Regions from separate parts of the Homo sapiens genome. Here regions 1 and 3 are each linked to region 2. Evidence: promoter capture Hi-C in human tissues and cell types (Jung and others, 2019). All regions are on one chromosome and are shown on one strand. Each heading gives the region's core, a stretch centred on a gene start or on the middle of the fragment in contact. The rest is flanking DNA. Distances are from core to core; before and after follow the strand shown.

What was found. The method cuts DNA at HindIII sites, captures the fragments that hold promoters and counts their contacts. A contact is called where the count stands out against the background at its distance.
Region 1: a fragment that was not itself captured here is called in contact with the fragment with the promoter of GSS in region 2 in 2 of the 25 tissues and cell types used here (bladder and dorsolateral prefrontal cortex).
Region 3: a fragment that was not itself captured here is called in contact with the fragment with the promoter of GSS in region 2 in 1 of the 25 tissues and cell types used here (hippocampus).

Annotation. Positions count from the first base shown.
Region 1 is chr20:35,446,913-35,451,154 of GRCh38, forward strand. It overlaps a transcript of GDF5 not described here. Among named protein-coding and RNA genes, the nearest start is that of MIR1289-1, 5.1 kb to the right of the region's middle. The HindIII fragment of the contact is 8,774 bases long and covers 1-4,242 here.
Region 2 is chr20:34,953,488-34,957,788 of GRCh38, forward strand. GSS (glutathione synthetase) reads right to left here and starts at 2,319. Exons shown (of 13, transcript NM_000178.4): 1 at 2,240-2,319. It overlaps MYH7B (myosin heavy chain 7B), which reads left to right and starts at 2,381. Exons shown (of 45, transcript NM_020884.7): 1 at 2,381-2,520. RefSeq lists enhancers at 2,127-2,226, 2,467-2,646. The HindIII fragment of the contact is 12,827 bases long and covers 1-4,301 here.
Region 3 is chr20:35,212,938-35,216,687 of GRCh38, forward strand. The region is part of intron 4 of MMP24-AS1-EDEM2 (MMP24-AS1-EDEM2 readthrough); the gene reads right to left. It also overlaps a transcript of PROCR not described here. Among named protein-coding and RNA genes, the nearest start is that of MMP24, 12 kb to the right of the region's middle. RefSeq lists an enhancer at 3,123-3,622. The HindIII fragment of the contact is 7,963 bases long and covers 1-3,750 here.

The DNA of each region.
Region 1 (4,242 bases), core at 1,230-3,729, 490 kb after region 2:
ATCCCAGCAAGAGCAGAGCCGCCTCTGCCTACACTCACCCGCGCCGCAAACCTGGTTTCTTTTCTTTTCTTTTTTATTATTATTATACTTTAAGTTCTAGGGTACATGTGCACAGCATGCAGGTTTGTTACATATGTTTTTTTAAAATTTTTTTATTATACTTTAAGTTCTAGGGTACATGTGCACAATGTGAAGGTTTGTTACATATGTATACGTGTGCCACGTTGGTATGCTGCACCCATTAACTCGTCATTTACATTAGGTATATCTCCTAATGCTACCCCTTCCCCCTCCCCCCACCTCACAACAGGCCCCGGTGTGTGATGTTCCCCTTCCTGTGTCCAAGTGTTCTTATTGTTCAATTCCCGCGTGTTCTCACTCATAGGTGGGAATTTAACAATGAAAACCTGGTTTCTTTTCTAGACTCCGCAGCAGTGGCCACTGCTCAGGACGCGCTCTCAAGGGCTCCCCCTGCTGGGATACTCGGGAGCTGCACCTTGCTAGAGTTGAGTGTCTCTGGGCCTTCTGTCCATAAGTCAATCAAATTCCTTCCCTGGGCTGCAAATACCTGTACTACAATCTGAAGCTGGAAATTGTATGTGAGTGTTGCGTGTGTCTGTCTGTTGTGGGTAGAGGGGTGTGAATAAAATAACCACATGTTTTACATATTTATTCTAGAAAATATTTTTATTTTTAAAATAATTCTAAAACTTATAAAAAGTCATACATATTAGGAAGAAAAGTAATATGAATTCATGATTTTAAAAATTCAAACAGTAGAAAAGAATGCAAAAGAAAATATTTTCCTCCCACCCCAGACCCTGGGTCTTTCAGTCCTCCCCAGAAGCAACAACTCTGATCAGTCTCCTAGATGACTTTCCACACAATATAGTAACATCAGCTTTTTAAAAACTTTATTAGGCAGGGCACGGTGGCTCATGCCTGTAATCCCAGCACTTTGGGAGGCTGAGGCGGGAAAACTGCCTGAGCCCAGGAGTTGGAGATCAGTCTGAGCAACATGGCACAAGCCCGTCTCTATAAAATAAAAAAAAAATTTAAACACCTTTTTATCGATGCATGATATTCATACCAAATATATTTGATTATAAAATTAAATCATGTTCATTGTAAAAATATTCAAATAATACCAAAGTTTATAAAGTTAAAAGAGAAAGTTCCCCTCTCCCCTCACACCCCAATCTCTCTAATCACAGGAAACCTCTCTAATCACTGGAAACCTTGTTGTCATTCTTGAGCTCAGAAATCTCAGATCCTTGCTGGACTCCTCCACTCCTCCTTCCCTCCATCTAATTCTAATTCCCACTTTGTGTATAAGAACCCTAGCTGGTAAGTACTGTTATCCCCATATTGCAGCTGAGGAATTTGAGGCTCAGAAAGGGAAAGAGGGTTGCTCAAGAACATAAGGCAAGCTGGACGCGGTGGTGCACATCTGTAGTCCTGGCTACGGGACTTTTTGTTTTTTTCAAAAAAAAAAAAAAAAATATATATATATATATAGTTAAGGGCCCCCCCGACTTTTTTTTTTTTTTTTTTTTTGTCTCACTCTGTCACCCAGGCTGGAGTGCAGTGGAGCAATCTTGGCTCACTGTAACCTCCTCCTCACAGGTTCAAGCGATTCTTGTGCCTCAGCCTTCCGAGCAGCTGGGATCACAGGTGCACGACACCAGGCCCGGCTAATTTGTGTATTTTTAGTAGAGACAGGGTTTCGCCATGTTGGCCAGGCTGGTCTCAAACTTCTGGCTTCAAGCGATCCACTTGCCTCCACCTCCCAAAGTGCTGGGATTACAGGCATGAGCCATCAGGCCTGACCAAGGGCCCATTTTTGAGGAAGGAGAGGACCTGGTCCTGTGGGAACTGTGACTGGACATCCTTTATTGCCCAAGCCCTGAGTGATAGTGAAAAGATGTCATCCACTTCAAGAATCTCAAGCTTGGGTACGCTGGTCACTTCGAGCCTGACTTAGTGAGTGAGAGGGGGCTAGGACTGGAATAAGAACTGCCTACTGAGGCGGGGTCAGGACCAGGGAGAAAATATCCAGCTGACAAAGGGAATCCAACTAGGGAGATTGACACAATTCAACCAGATGGTGGCATCAGCAAGAGGAGTGTCCGGCATTCCTAACACATCCCATGCTCTAGCATGCTGCTGTGCCTTTGCACATGCTGCTTGGAATCCCCGCCACCACCCCACCCCTGCCACTTTGCTTAGCATTTTTTTTTGAGATGGGGTCTTGCTATGCTGCCCAGGCTGGTCTCAAACTCCTAAGCTCAAGAGGTTCTTCTGACTCAGCCTCTTGAGTGGGTGGGACTACAGCCACATGCCACCATGCCTGGCTTGTCTGCTTAGCATTTTTTTTTTTTGAGACAGGGTCTTGCTGTGTTGCCCAGGTTGGAGTGCAGTGGCTTGAACACAGCTCACTGCAGCCTCAACCTCCTGGGCTCAAGCGATCCTTCCTACCTCAGCCTCCAGAATAGTTGGGACTACAGTAGTGCACCACCACACCTGGCTAATTTTAGCGTTTTTATCCTTCACAAACAAGTCATAGTGGCCTGATGCTGTGTAGCCAGCTGCTCCCTCTTTATAGAATTTACTACACTGTGTGTGTGTGAACTATTTCTTTACTTGCTTGCCTGCCATGTGAGTTTGTGAACAGAGGCTCTGGACAGAGTTCATTTATTATTGTTCTTTGGGTCCCTCCCAGTGCATAACTCAACTTTTGGCACACAGTAGGTGCTCAATCAATATTTTAAAAATAATGAATGAATGGAACTTCAGCGCGGCAGCTCAAGCCTATAATCCCAGCACTTTGGGAGGCTAAAGTAGGAACATTGCTTGATGCCAGGAATTCAAGACCAACCTGGACAACACAGTGAGTCCCCATCTCTACAAAAAAATTTTTAAACAAATTAGCCAGGACTGGTGGCACAGGCCTATAGTCTTAGCTACTCGGGAGGCTGAGCCAGGAGGATCGCTTGAGCCCAGGAGATTGAAGCTGCAGTGAGCTATGATCAAATCACTGCACTCCAACCTGAGTGAAAGAGCAAAACCCTGTCTCTTAAAAAAAAAAAAAGAGAGAGAGAGAGAATGGGCCGGGCGTCGCGGCTCACGCCTGTAATCCCAGCACTTTGGGAAGCCGAGGTGGGCGGATCACTTGAGGTCAGGAATTCAAGACCAGCCTCGCTAACATGGTGAAACCCCATCTCTACTGAAAAAAAAAAAAAAAGCTGGGTGTGGTGGTGGTGGGCGCCTGTAATCCCAGCTTCTCAGGAGGCTGAGGCACGAGGATCACTTGAACCCAGGAGGCGGAGGTTGCAATGAGCCAAGATCGTGCCACTGCACTCCAGCCTGGGCTACAAAGTGAGACTCTGTAAAAAAAAAAAAAAAGAATGGACTCAGAGGAACAGCAGCAAGAGACTATCGTTTTGGTGCTCCAGACTGTTACCTTGCAGTGAGAAAGAAAGAGGAAAGTGGTTGACTTTTTTTCCCTCTATTTTTCCCTCTCTGTCATCCTCAGCTCACTTTAGTCACTCAACATGTCTCCATGTTAACATGGAGAGGAAGATGGGGGTGGGAAAAGTCTTCTTTGAACCAGTGTAATAGCTGGCTTAGTGCTTTCTGGGCCTCGCAGATGTTTATAGCCATCTCTATCCATCATCAAAGCATCATGGGGTGCTTTTATACACTCTTCAGGGGTTCCCTACTGGCCCCTCTCCTGCAGTTCCCTTAGCAAAGGCATCTATTAATGGCCATTTGTCTAGCTTCTTGTTCCTGGGGTCCCTTTATACCTCCAGGAAGCCCTACTGAACAGGACCTAATAGTCAGCAGGCTTGTCTCTTCTTGCTAGAGTTCACAGGCAGGAAGCATATCCTGGTCACGATACTCCCTAAGTGCAATGGTATGGATTCTGCATCTCAGATTCTCATGGAAGCCCCCTCTCCTAGTCACTTGGTTTGAGCGGTTAAAAGTAATGTCCTCTTAATCTTCCCCAAGGAGGAATGGGGACTCATAGCCAGAAATATCTCCACACAAATTATCTATCCTCCACCTGCAGACCCCTTTATATTGGGATAAGGGATTTAGGAACTTTCAAACAGATTTTAGACTAACAGAAAAAAAAAAAAAAAAAAAAAAATATATATATATATATATATATATATATACACAAATATATATGTAGTGATTTAGCACCTCATTTTGAAATTTCACATACATATATATATA
Region 2 (4,301 bases), core at 1,069-3,568:
CATAATAATACGACTTCTCCCTTTCCCTTCTTTCCTTCCTTCCTTTTCCCTTTCCCTTTCCCTTCCCTCCTTCTTTCCTTCCTTCCTTCCTTCTTTTTCTTTCTTTCTCTCTCTCTCCCTCCCTCTTTCTTTCTTTTTTTTTTTTTTTGACGGAGTCTGGCTCTGTCGCCCAGGCTGGAGTGCAGCCGCACGATCTCGGCTCACTGCAAGCTCCGCCTCCTGGGTTCATGCCATTCTCCTGCCTCAGCCTCCCGAGTAGCTGGGACTACAGGCACCTGCCACCATGCCCGGCTAATTTTTTGTATTTTTAGTAGAGACGGGGTTTCACCGTGTTAGCCAGGATGGTCTCGATCTCGTGATCCCCCACTCTCGGCCTCCCAAAGTGCTGGGATTACAGGCGTGAGCCACCCCGCCCAGCCGACTTCCCTTTCAAGTAAGATTGCTGTGTGGATTAAAAGAGAAAAATCAGTGTGAAATTTATCAGCAGTGTTTGAAGCTCTATACATGAGACCATTTTTTGGCTGTACTCTCTTTATAGGTAGGAGGAGACTTGTCAGAGGTCACACAGAAGCCTAGTGGCAGAGCCAGGACAAGAACCCATTACCTTGACATTAGAGTAATGAAACCCTCCATGAGCCCCCATCGTTCCACAACTCTGAAATTCCAACATCTGTTTGCTGTTGGGCTTTTATTTAGTTGGCAAACACTGATTTGCATTTAATGCCACTCCCTTGACTAGGTACTGGGGATATGGAGGAGGATAAGACATAAAGATAATCACCATGGGCCAGGTGTGGTGGCTCACTCGTGTAATCCCAGCACTTTGTGAGGCCGAGGCAGGCGGATCACCCGAGGTCGGGAGTTCGAGACCAGCCTCACCAACATGGAGAAACCCCATCTCTACTAAAAATACAAAATTAGCCGGGCCTGGTGGCGCATGCCTGTAATCCGAGCTACTTGGGAGGCTGAGGCAGGAGAATAGCTTGAACCCAGGAGGTGGAGGTTGTAGTGAGCCGAGATCGTGCCATTGCACTCCAGCCTGGGCAACAAGAGCAAAGCTCTGTCAAAAAAAAAAAAAAAGAAAAAAAGAAAGAAAGAAAAGAAATCAGATGAAGGTGCTAAGTGGGCCCTTTGTTTTTCTCATTCTACAGCCTCAACCCTCCCTTGGCTTTATTTATGTTTTGCTGATGACATTCAAATCTACATCTTCACAGCAATACTTTCCTACCTTCAAACTAGAATATCCAATTTTTTCCTGCGAGTCTCCATACAACCAGAATAGAATTTGTTGTTGTCTCCCACAAATCTGCTTCTTCTCTGATGAACCCCACCCAGGTACCCAAGCCTTGAGTACTTGTTTCCTACATCTCACTCTCCCCAAATCCTATGGATTTTGCTGCCTAAGTATATAGTACTTTGAATTCCTTTATTTATCTCCATTTCCAGAGTTTGTAGCCTAGCCCCGGCCACTGTCATCTCTTCCCTGGGCGTGAAACAGATTCAGAGTCAGGTGTCTTCAGTGACCAGGATATGTTGGCCTCTGTCCCCCTTCCAGGACTTGGCACGTGCTGTCTTCTCTTTGGAACTCTCGCCACCACTCCTGATCTGGGCTCGCGATTTCGTTCCGGAAGCTGTCCCTGTTCTCCGCCCCGGGCTTCTACATTCTACAGCCCATCACTTTTCCCTGTACCGTAGGAACAGTGTTTGTCTTGATCACTTCTCTACCTAGTAATTAGCCGCGCTTAGTACTGTATTCATTCATCACATGAATGAATGAAGAATGAATGACAGACGGGTCAGATCACCGAAAGCCTCAAAACGCCCACAAGGAAATCGGTCGCACTTTATCGCCAGGACTTAGGCCAGTGCCTGGAAAGGCCCCGAGGCAACGACACGGTCGGCTGCCCAGGCTGGCCCCACTTCACGGGCCCGCTCGCTTCCACCCTGGACAAAGTTTGGCCCTAATCGCTCCCCGTTGTAGCTCTAACTGGCTCCAGTCTCACTGGCCTACATGCCCCGACACCGGCCCGATCTAAAGGCAGAAGATCCGGAAAGTCTGGGATCAGTGCGCGCCAGCCCAACCCCCTCACTAGACACTAGTTGCCCCGCTCCTACGAAGGGTTTCAGCCACAAGGTCTCCCGGCCTCCGGAATTCCAATCTCTTGCCAGACCCCTCCCTCACATCGTTCCTCCCGAGGAAACGTGACCCATGCCGGCCGCCGTGGCCGCCCCAACCTACTAGTTCGCCTTTCCTCCGCGAACGGTTCTCCCGGCCCTCGCGCCGCTACCCAGGCTCAGGGGGCGGGGCCTCGATGCGACCCAGTGCGCTTGCGCTGACCGCCCCGGCTAGGCTTAAAGAGCAGGCGGGGCAGAGACCCATACCTTTGGCGCTGAGTCGAGGCCAGGAAGGGGCGGTCGATGAGAGGGCGGCCTTAGCATTAGGAGTGCGTCGGCTGCACCCTGGCGGATGGACCTTGGGAAGGAGGGGAGGGGACCATCGGGGTCGGCGGGGAGCTACGGGTATGCATAGCTCATAGAGCGTCAGAGCTGACGACGACTAGTGGAAGATGGGGAAACTAATGCTCAGAGCGGGACAGTCACTACCTCAGGGGCACACAATTGATAAGGGTGGGGGTGGCCGTGGTAATGGAGGCCCCAAGGAGGGGCAGGGGCCCATAGTACGTCAGGGGCTGAGCCTGTATTAGAACCCAGGCTTGTTTCCCAGCCCAGCCAAGTCCCAGAAAAATCCCCCTGATTTTATCTATTTTTTTTTAACCTGGGATACCAGCAGGGAAAGCATTAGAGGCAAAAGGAAAGGATTTTCATTTTTCCAGGAATGCTGAAGTCAGGACTGTTTGAGGGGAGCCCTGTGTTTCTCAGACTCTCTTGTACCGTTTACATCAGGATCTGGGGCAGTTTTTAAAAATATGCGGATTCATGATTCCTACCCCCCACCTCATTGCTTGGCAGCCCCCAGGTGCCTTCCCTGTTTCTTCCTTCTGGGTTGTGATAGGCTTGTCTGCAGTCCGAAGCACCTGATACGAATTTTAGTTAAATGGAATGTATCAGTCCAGCTTCTAGGGAATTAACCATAAATAAGACACAGCCACTGCTTTCAGTCTGATAAGATAGGCAATAAACTGCCTTTCTGAAGGAATCAGGGATGGTTTTTGGGGTCTTGAAGGATGGATAGGAAGGTATAGGTAGTGAAGGAGGTAGGGGTAGAGGTGAGAGGCTGGGATGGGGACAGTGTTCCAAATTGCAGGAACAAAAGCAGCAAAGGCTGGCTGGGTGCAGTGGCTCAGACCTGTAATCCCAGCACTTTGAGAGGCCGAGGCAGGTGGATTACTTGAGCTCAGGAGTTGGAGACCAGGCTGGGCAACATGGCGAAACCCCGTCTCTACTAGAAATACAAGAATTAGCCGGGTGTGTTGGCCCGTGCCTGTAATCCCAGCTACTCGGGAGGCTGCGGCGTGAGAATTCTTGAGCCCCGGAGACGGAGGCTGCTGTGAGCTGAGATCACGCTGCAGCACTCCTGCCTGGGTGACAGCGTGAGACCCTGTCCTAAAAACAAAACAAACGAGCAGCGAAGGCATATAATTCTGAGGGTTGCTCGGCTTGTTTTACAGACACTGAGGAGTTTGGTGTGGATAATGAGGAAGGGCCTGAGGGTTGCAACAGGACTTAGGCGCTTAGGCTTGGAGAGGTAGCCTCAGACGCCAGTTCCACTGAGCAACAGGAGCTAAGGGCTTTAAGCAGGGGAAGGACATGGTTAGTTTTGTGTGTTAGGCACTGGTTACAGCGTGACAAATGGTTTGGAAGTGGGGAGATGGGCCAGAGAAAGCAGAGAGAGTTAAGATGTGAGATCATGAGGCTGTAGCCAGTGCAGCAGCTGTGGAGATGGAGCGAAGCGAACAGATCAAAGAAATTTAGGAGTGAGAACTCCTAGTGATCGTAAATCAGTGGCCCAACCCAGGGACCAAGATCCTTTTGACTCTTTTTTTTTTTTTTTTTTTTTGAGACGGAGTTTTCGTTGTTGTTGCCCAGGCTGGAGTGCAGTGGCACGATCTCAGCTCACTGCAACCTCCACTTCCCAGGTTCAAGCAATTCTCCTGCCTCAGCCTCCCAAGTAGCTGGGATTACAGGCGTCCACCACCACACCCGGCTAATTTTTGTATTTTTGGTAGAGACAGGGTTTCACCATGTTGGCCAGATTGGTCTGAAACTCTTGAGCTCAGGTGATCCACCCGCCCCAGCCTCCCAGAGTGCTAGGATTACAGGCGTTAGCCACTGCGCCCGGC
Region 3 (3,750 bases), core at 591-3,090, 260 kb after region 2:
GTATTTGCAGTCTGATAATGTTAAGAAAGCAGTGGCTGATTGTCTTAATTTGCCTTTCTTTAATTACAAACATGGTTGGTCATTTAAAAAATTATTATAGGAGTCTGTTCAGGCCAGGCACAGTGGCTCACGCCCATAATCCCAGCACTTTGGGAGGCCGAGGCAGATGGATCACTTGAGGCCAAGAGTTCCAGATCAGCCTGGCCAACACGGCAAAACCGCGTCTCTACAAAAAACACAAAAAAATTAGTCAGGTATGGTGGCATGTGCCTGTAGTCCCAGCTACTTGGGAGGCTGAGACATGAGAATCGCTTGAACCAAGGAAGCAGAGGTTGCAGTGAGTTAAGATCGTGCCACTGCACTCCATCCTGGGTAACGGAGCGAGACTGTCTCAAAAAAAAAAAAGAGTCCATTTATATTTCTGTTTGCATGAAGCCCATTTAGTCCTTCGCCATTATTGAATTGGGTCATAGGTCTTTTTCTTATTGGTTTATAACAGCTGTTTTACGTTAAAAAAATAATAATAAATATTTTACCTAGTTTATAGTTTGTTGCTTTATTTCTGCTTTTTTTTTGGCCATGCAGATGAAGGCCTGAATTTTTGAAACCTAAGTGAACTGTTACTGCTTTCACTGTATACCAGTATTTTGCAATATAAGCCCTCTTTTCAGGGAGTGGCCTTTAGAGACTATTACACTTATTTTTTTAGAAGCTCAGCTTGTTCATTTGGAGAACATACAATATTAAAGGGAAAAAATGCTCAGCTTGTACTTATTTTTTGAAGAGATAATATATCCACATGATTAAAAAGTCAAAAGATACAAAAAGGTATACAGTGAGAAAAATCTCCTTCCAGCCAGGCATGGTGGCTCCCACCTGTAATCCCAGCACTTTTGGGAGGCCAAGGCAGGCGGATCACATGAGGCCAGGAGTTCGAGACCAGCCTGCCCAACATGGTGAAACACTGTCTCTACTAAAAATATAAAAAATAGCTGGGCTTTGTGGTGTTTGCCTGTAGTTCTAGCTACTTCGGAGGCTGAGGCAAGAGAATTGCTCCAACCCAGGAGGCAGAGGTTTCGGTGAGCCGAGACTGTGCCACTGCACTCCAGCCTGGGTAACAGAGCGTGACTCCATCTCAAAAAAATAAAATAAAATAATTAAAAAAAATTAAAAAATAAAAATAAAAATTGCCTTCCCACCCTGTCCTCAAACCACTTAAGCTTCCCTCCAGGAAGTAAGCACTATTATCAGTTCCTTGGGTATCTGTCCCTATTTTATGTGTAAATGAGCAAGTGCATGCACACACATGTATTCTTTTTTCCGATTATTACACAAATAGTAGCCTACAATATCCAGGATTCTGCACCTTTGCCTTTTTTTTACCACTTAACATTACATTTTGGAAATAATGTCCTAATTATTCATAAATTCGTAAGTACTTCCTCATTTTAAAAAATGGCTGCATTGGGCCGGGCGCGGTGGCTCACGCCTGTAATCCCAGCACTTTGGGAGTCCAAGGCGGGTGGATCACAAGGTCAGGAGATCGAGACCATCCTGGCTATCACGGTGAAACCCTGCCTCTACTAAAAAAATACAAAAAAATTAGCTAGGCGTGGTGGTGGGCGCCTGTAATCCCAGCTACTCGGGAGGCTGAGGCAGGAGAATTGCTTGAACCCAGGAGGTGGAGGTTGCAGTGAGCCGAGATCGCGCCACTGCACTCCAGCCTGGGCGACAGAGCGAAACTCCATCTCAAAAAAAAAAAAAAAAAATTACAAAAGGCTGCATAGTGTCCCATTGTATGCATTGGTTTGAATATGCTTTTAAGGGAGAAACCTGAGTAAGAAATACTCTCAAGTCATTTGGGGCTGGACATTGAGACTGAGTCGGGGGATTGGACTGGGACCTTCTCTAGATCCTGAACAATCAGACCTTTTCCTTCCTCCAGGCCTTTACCTCCCATTTTCTTTTTCTTTTTTTTTTTTTTTTTGAGATGGAGTCTCACTCTGTAGCCCAGGCTGAAGTGCAGTGGCACCATCTCAGCTCACTGCAACCTCTGTCTCCTGGGTTCAAGAGATTCTCCTGCCTCGGCCTCCTGAGTAGCTGGGATTACAGGCACGCGCCACCAAGCCAGGCTAATTTTTTTGTGTTTTTAGTAGAAACGGGGTTTCACCCATGTTGGTCAGGCTGGTCTCAAACTCCTGACCTCAAGTGATCCACCCGCCTCAGCCTCCCAAAGGTGCTGGGATTACGGGCGTGAGCCACAGCGCCCGGCCTTTTACCCTCCATTTTCTGCCAATTAAAACTTCACACAGTCTTCCATTGCTTGTAACTTTTGAACACGTGTGTGGTAATGTTCTGTGTATATTGCATATAAAACTATTAGCTTTTAAAATATTACCAGTTTATATAGACTCATCTCAAATGCTACTTCCTTTTGGAAACCTTCCTTGATCTCCCTGATATCCCCAGCCAGAGTGACCTCACTCCCCTCTGAAATCCTATAGAATGGTGTAATGTTTTGTGGTTATTTGTCACGCCTTTTATGTGCACAAGTCTTATCTTTTTTTTTTTTTTAACCTGAAGACGGCCTCACTTGCCCCAGTACCTTCCACAGAGTGGCTTCTGAGTAATGTTTACAGAATTTTTGAGGTAATTAATGAATGAACAAAGGCACCAAGGGTTAAGGACATGAATTTAGTGTCAGACACTTGGGTTCTACTCCTGGTTTTGCTGTTTTTTAGGTGTGTCGTGGGGTAGGTCACTTCTCTCACCCTTTCCTTAGAATCCACTTCACAGGACAGTGGTGAGGATTAAGTGATTTGATGTAGGTAAATTGCTTTTCATTGACTGTTAGCTGCTGAAATAGGAATTCAGAGGAAGGAGGAGAGAGGTCAAGGAGACTTCCTAAGCTGGACTGTGCTCTCCAGCCACCCTCTCATTTATATTTCCTTTCAGATCTCTACTAAGAATGTCACTCTGGCCGGGCGCAGTGGCTCACTCCTGTAATCCCAGCACTTTGGGAGGCCGAGGCAGGAGGATCACTTGAGGTTGGGAGTTCGAGACCAGCATGACCAACATGGAAAAACCCCGTCTCTACTAAAAATACAAAATTAGCCAGGCGTGGTGGTGCATGTCTGTAATCCCAGCTACTCGGGAGGCTGAGGCAGGAGAATCACTTGAACCCGGGAGGCAGGGGTTGCGGTGAGCCGAGATCACACCATTGCACTCCAGCCTGGGCTACAAGAGCGAAACTCTGTCTCAAATAAATAAATAAATAAAACAAAATAAAAAATAAAGAATGTCACTCTTCCTTGTTCCTGCATTTTCTTTTTATGTCTTTATCTTTTGGGTAAATTTGCCTGGCTTCAGGGCGAAGGCCCTCCAGCACCAAGAGCTGCCTAGTACTGCAGATTCTTACGACCACTCAAATCTTTCTTTCCTTTATAAGAAACAAGCAACTCTACCCTATGGTTGAGCCAATGTGTCAGTTTCTTCCTATCCAAATGGATGGCATCCTGACATCTGCAGTGAGAGGCCAATGCAATTTGGTGGGGGTAGGGGCAAGGGTGGGGGAGTTTTGCAGAGCATAAAGAGCACAGTATCTTGGATCTTCAGCAGCTTGAGTTCAGTTCTTAACTTTTCTTGCCTCATTACAACAGTGTCACAACCCATTTTCCTCATACATTGAGAACTGCTGCAGTCAGGCACGGTGACTGTTACATGGCTGTTATATTGGCCATGGATGGCCAA